Linked DNA regions of Homo sapiens: region 2 is linked to region 1. The links are contacts of gene promoters, found by promoter capture Hi-C in human tissues and cell types (Jung and others, 2019). All regions are on one chromosome and are shown on one strand. Each heading gives the region's core, a stretch centred on a gene start or on the middle of the fragment in contact. The rest is flanking DNA. Distances are from core to core; before and after follow the strand shown. Region 1 holds the start of C1orf105 (chromosome 1 open reading frame 105). Region 2 overlaps DNM3 (dynamin 3).

Region 1 (2,700 bases), core at 42-2,541:
GAAACCTGGGATGGGCAATTCTCCTCTGGCTAAGGGTGGTCTAAATGGTCCCTCCATTGGCAACAGCTAAGTTCTGCCCCGTATTGGCAGCACTGAATTCTAGAGTCCCACAATCGCTGTGCCCTCCCTCCAAGTGCACAGATTCTCTCTCCACACTATGTGGCTGCTGCCAGGGGATGGGGGAGGGGTGGTGTCAGCAATTCAAGATTGTCTTTCTTATCTTCCTCAGTGCTTCTTTCAACAATACGAAGTTAAAACCAGGTACTGTGATCACTTTGTGATCACTGATTTTTGGTTCTTATGAAGGTGCTTTTTTGTGTAGATAGTTGTTAAATTTGATGTTCGTGCATGGAGAACAATCAGTGAAGGCTTCTGTTTGGCCATCTTGCTCTGCGTCCTCCCCAACTTAGGATTTTTTTACTTTATCATGGGTTCATCAGGGTATTGCATGCATTTTTGACTTACAATATTTTCAACTTGTGGTGGTTTATTGAGATGTAACCCTATCATAAGTCAAGGAGCACCTGTACTATGGTAATAGAGACAGCTAGTATATCCCTTTAAATAGGAAACATACAGTGTCATAAGCTCAATGTGATTTATTCAGATTTAGACCCTAGTAATTATAAAAGTCTATACAAGTTTTTTTTTCTTTCTCAGCAATCTTAACTTCCTGTGACTGAGATTCATTGTTTTAAAGTGCATTCACAGTTGAGAAGGTTTACTTCAGAATCTCAGGGAACTGCACTAAAGAATCTGGTATCAATTTTCTGAGGATTTAAAAAAATCATACTTAAATGCTGAGTTATAAAAGATGTTGGCAAGTACAACATTTTTTCCAAACTATACGATAAAGAGCATTGAAATTTATCATGCCCCAAACCCATTAAAATTATCTTCACCTGTAACTGAACATCAGCTGTTATTTCCTTACCTTCTTTTGGCTTTCAACTTCTAGGATGTCTGTTGAAACACCCCTCAATGTTTATGTGGCCTCCAAGGCATACAAACATTTACCAGGGTAACCCCATAAGGAAAGAATTGGAAGTTTCATTTATTTTTTTCCTACCTTTAGTTCTCTTTTTTCCATCTTTCAGATCTTTAGATGTTCTGAGTTTTTCTAGCTGGAGACTGGGGAAACCTAGCTCCCCTCACTGTGGCCAGTGGAAGACTGCTGTGGAGAACCTGAATCCAAAGTGTTTTTTGTTAGGAGACGAAGTAAACAGGCCAGTTTACAGTTTCAATACCAGTATGCCTTTTTCTCTACCAACATCTGTGTGATTTACATCTTGAATCATATAATTCCATTCAGAATGAAAAGCTCAGTTTCTGATTGGCTGAAATGAGTTCTAGTATTCCTTTCTTTGTTAGAAGTCAAAATCACAATGTTCTGGAACATTAGCATGTGTTGGGTAAAGTTGATAACAGTATACTAAAACTCAGATAGCTGCTTCAGTACTGAAGTCAGAACAGTTCTCCCTGGAAAGACAACCAAACTTTTCTCTTATTGTAGCACTACATTGTAATTGCTTATTTAGCTATTTTGTAAGCTACTTTTATTCTGTTACTTCTCTGGTATTCCCAGGGTCCAGGACATTATCATGAATTCAAGAAATGTTTGATGCATAAATAAAGGAATGAAAATATATAAGGAATATTATGTTTACTAAAGGCATAATAGTTTGGCTCTTCCTGACTATCCTGAGTTATGATCAACTCTGAAAAAGGGAGTAATTTTTCAAGTCTATTAAACATAGCAGGGTGGAGGTGGAGGTAAGAAGAGTTGGGGAAAGGTATATTATGAAACATAGAAATACTATTTACTAAATACATATTAACAAATCTTAGCATAATTTAATTTTACTCCAGGCTGCCCCCCATCCCTTTCCCCTGCCCTCTTTTTTCTTGCCTATAGAATGTAAGGAAGGGAACACACTTCTTTGTTAAGGAAAACTGAGTAAGGTTGTCATTTCATTCTGTTATGACTGGAGTTTTTCCTTCTCATCATTCATCAGGTCAATTTAAGTTTTATACATCTAAACTGTGTAACACTGCATATAAAAATAAGTCCATGTTTAAGACAAAGTGGAAAAGTACCAAACACTTTTAAAAAATGAATTGAAGAAAACCTTCTCTTTGACAACTTCGGTTTTCATTTGGGGAGGTGGTATGAAATCATCTAGGTACATTTTTGTCTATTGGGATGAAGAATGCTATCCACTAAGAATATTGATTTAAAAATCAAATGCCTGGACTGGAGGGGAAGGAAAGGACAAAAGACTGCATGCTATGTGCTATTTTACATCAAGTCACCTCCTTCCTGCTATACATGAGCTTCAGTTGATGCCTTGGTTTGGAGCCTTTGAACTTTCTTAGTTATCACTGATTTTAAATGGTAGTCACTGGACCGGGGATACAATTAAAATAATGTAACATGCCATATGAACATTTTAAACCAAGAAACTGATTTTTCATTTTTGAGTGGAGAACTCAGTCCTTAAAAAAATTTGTGGTCCGAAGAAACAGCATTACTAATGAGGACTCTCCCTTTTACAACTGGGGGTTCCTGCCCACATCTTCCAAATACCTCCTTTGCCAGGGCTTGCCTAGGTCAGATGTGAAGTAAATAGAACTGATGAATGATTTTTTTGACTCTCTTGTCATGTAGTTTTCTGTCATCTTAATATGCTGAAGGGGAGC
Region 2 (2,700 bases), core at 181-2,680, 150 kb after region 1:
CTAAACATAATTTAAAATCTAATCCTTAATAATGCATTTCAAACTTCTTCCTGTTTAGAGAATATTAGCAAAATAAGTTATCGGAAAAAGTTATGAGGAAATGGTAGTGCAGAAAATAGTCAAGTGAGTATATACTATAGGGGTCACCTAAGCCAAATTCCCCCATCAGGCAGGACTCTCTTCTATGACATCATTCACAGGTAGGATTTACCATTTGTTTCTTTTTGCCCAGACAGTCCCAGTTTATTGCCAAGTGCTGTCCCACACTAATTATTAATACTGTCCCCTTTTACTCTCAAGAGTGATGATAAATTAGGACACCCTACCAATAAGTTGTTATCTAGCTTCTGCTAAAGTGCTCTGGAAATGGGGGGAGGCTTGCTAACTCACAAGTTGCCCATTCTATTTTTAAAAAGCTATACTAAAAATATATACTATATATGTAATACATAAAATCTTAAGAGTATTAAAAACCTCTTCCTGATGATATGCTGATATCTTTTTCTGAGCCACTTTTACACATTACTAATTCAGTCCTCTGGAAAGACAACGCAGAATGCGAGTCCTTCAGTTCCATAAGGCAACTTTCATGCCTTCCTTAATTTTTGACAAGTTAAACATAAAACACTTCAGTAAGGAAATACTCTTCAAGGAGAAATTTCAAGGCAATAAAAATTATCTTTTAATAATAGATGATGTTACGGAACTATATTTCAGATGTTTTCATGGGAGCCAGGTTCTCCAAAGGAGTAGCAGCACCTGACAGTGTGCTTTCTCAGAACTTCTGGCTTGAGTACACTATGTGTGTTTCCATGGGCTGGAAACAAATATTTGTTTTCCAAGAGTGTCAGACCAGTTGAGCCATGTGAAAGAAAAAATTAATAATCATCTCTGGTGGGGAGAGGCAACAGAAGTTAGCAGGTAAGGTGGTTTTGAAAAGAGCAAGAAGGTTGAAATGTCAACAACTGTATCTTTCTCAAGTTTTTTTTTCTTCATTTATGATTCAGGTATTTGAAAGAAGGCACTATAAAGAAGCAGACATGCAGCATGCCAAAAAATCCAAATATTTTCCAGATTGTAGAAGAAAATTAGATTATGTTGAAAATAATTAATGATAAAATAACTTTAGTGACAAATATTGAGCCTGCATGTTCTTGTTCTGTATGTTCTATCATCTGTATATTCACACAGATGATAGCCTCTGTGTTAGAGGTATAGTTAATGGAAATTTGATCTATCCAATAATTTAATAAGTATCTGGACCATGTGTTCTAATCTATGAGATATAAGTGATATACACTTTGAATGGTTCTACCTGATGAGCCCACACTACCATAACTAATTCTACTTGTGCATCTAGCAACAGCTACACAGATGGCAAGTCATAGTTGTCTAGGAATAATTAACCTTGACTAGACAGTGCATGTGGCAAATTCAACCTTACATTTGTGATGGCCAATAACAGAGCATTGCTTCAGGTCCCAGAACTGCTTGTTTACTAGTGTATAATGACAAAAATACAGAAACAAAGAGTAAGCAGTTGGAAGCCCTTGTAGCAATTTGACACTGCTATGACATCCAAGCCCTGATCAGTGGACTAGTCTGTCTTGTTCAAGTGTTTAGACCAGTTTGAGTGCTGCTGAACTCATAAGGTGAGTCTCATGCCATGCAAGTTGCAAACTGCTCAGGCGTGCAATAGGACCTTGCATTGATCTGCAAGTAATTGAAAATTAAAAAAAAAAAAAAAACCTTCACTAGAGAAGGTTTAAAAACCAGTGTTTCAGGGAAATTCTCGGTTTTAAATTTCTCACCATTTTGATCCAAGATGAAGGATATTAAGCAAATAACCCTTGGCATACATAGCATTTAGTAAAAAAAATCCAACAGCTCAATATTTCTTGGCTTTCATCACTTCTCAGATCTATCACAGTGGAGGGGAAGGAAGGAAAGGTATGCATGATATCTTTACCCCAGACTAGAAAAGTGGCTCTCTCATTTGAGACTGAAGCCCTGTTCCTTTCCCTCTGGGGCAGAATTAAAGAGCAAGGGATATGCTTATGTTGTTGGTGATAAGGCTGTCCTCTTTAGTCACTTCTTCATTTCCACACATCCTTCTCAAACATCAACACATTTCTAGCATCTTCATCCCCTTTCAATCCTGAGCTAGTTGATGATTTCTCTCCCTGACACCATCTGCCCTGCATCATCACTCAGCAAAGAGCAATGGTAGTTAAAGGGAGTAAACAAATGCTCTGGAAATTCCATCACTGTTTCGGTTTTTATATTGGGGTTGAGTAGGAGGGGACTGAGTGACATGGCTTTCGATGCTAAGATAAATCTATCAATTTAGCTGACATGAGTTTGACTTTTCAGAGGTATTCTGTCTTTACCATCTGCTTTACGACAGTGTGTAGGGGACTTGAAAAATCAAATTTGGCAATCAATGTAATATTGATTCTTCACAAGTAAGAGAAACATCCAACAGACTTACTTATGCAATAAGCACACCCCCCATTGCATGAAAATACAGCTTAAGCTGATGTGACACCACTGAATCATTATATCACGTATTGCATAACTGCCATTTCACAATAGTCCTCAAAGTATTATCTGGGGACTACTGGGGTACACAGGACTCTTTCAGGAGTCCCCAAGATCCTTTCAGATGTTTCTCCAGATCAAAACCATTGTCATAATACT

The links. The method cuts DNA at HindIII sites, captures the fragments that hold promoters and counts their contacts. A contact is called where the count stands out against the background at its distance.
Region 2: a fragment that was not itself captured here is called in contact with the fragment with the promoter of C1orf105 in region 1 in 3 of the 25 tissues and cell types used here (adrenal gland, dorsolateral prefrontal cortex and hippocampus).

Annotation. Positions count from the first base shown.
Region 1 is chr1:172,419,276-172,421,975 of GRCh38, reverse strand. It overlaps C1orf105 (chromosome 1 open reading frame 105), which reads right to left and starts at 1,291. Exons shown (of 7, transcript NM_139240.4): 1 at 1,070-1,291. The coding sequence starts at 1,090. The region is part of intron 1 of LOC102724528 (a long non-coding RNA gene); the gene reads left to right. The HindIII fragment of the contact is 11,853 bases long and covers 1-2,700 here.
Region 2 is chr1:172,273,772-172,276,471 of GRCh38, reverse strand. The region is part of intron 15 of DNM3 (dynamin 3); the gene reads right to left. Among named protein-coding and RNA genes, the nearest start is that of DNM3OS, 130 kb to the right of the region's middle. The HindIII fragment of the contact is 5,960 bases long and covers 1-2,700 here.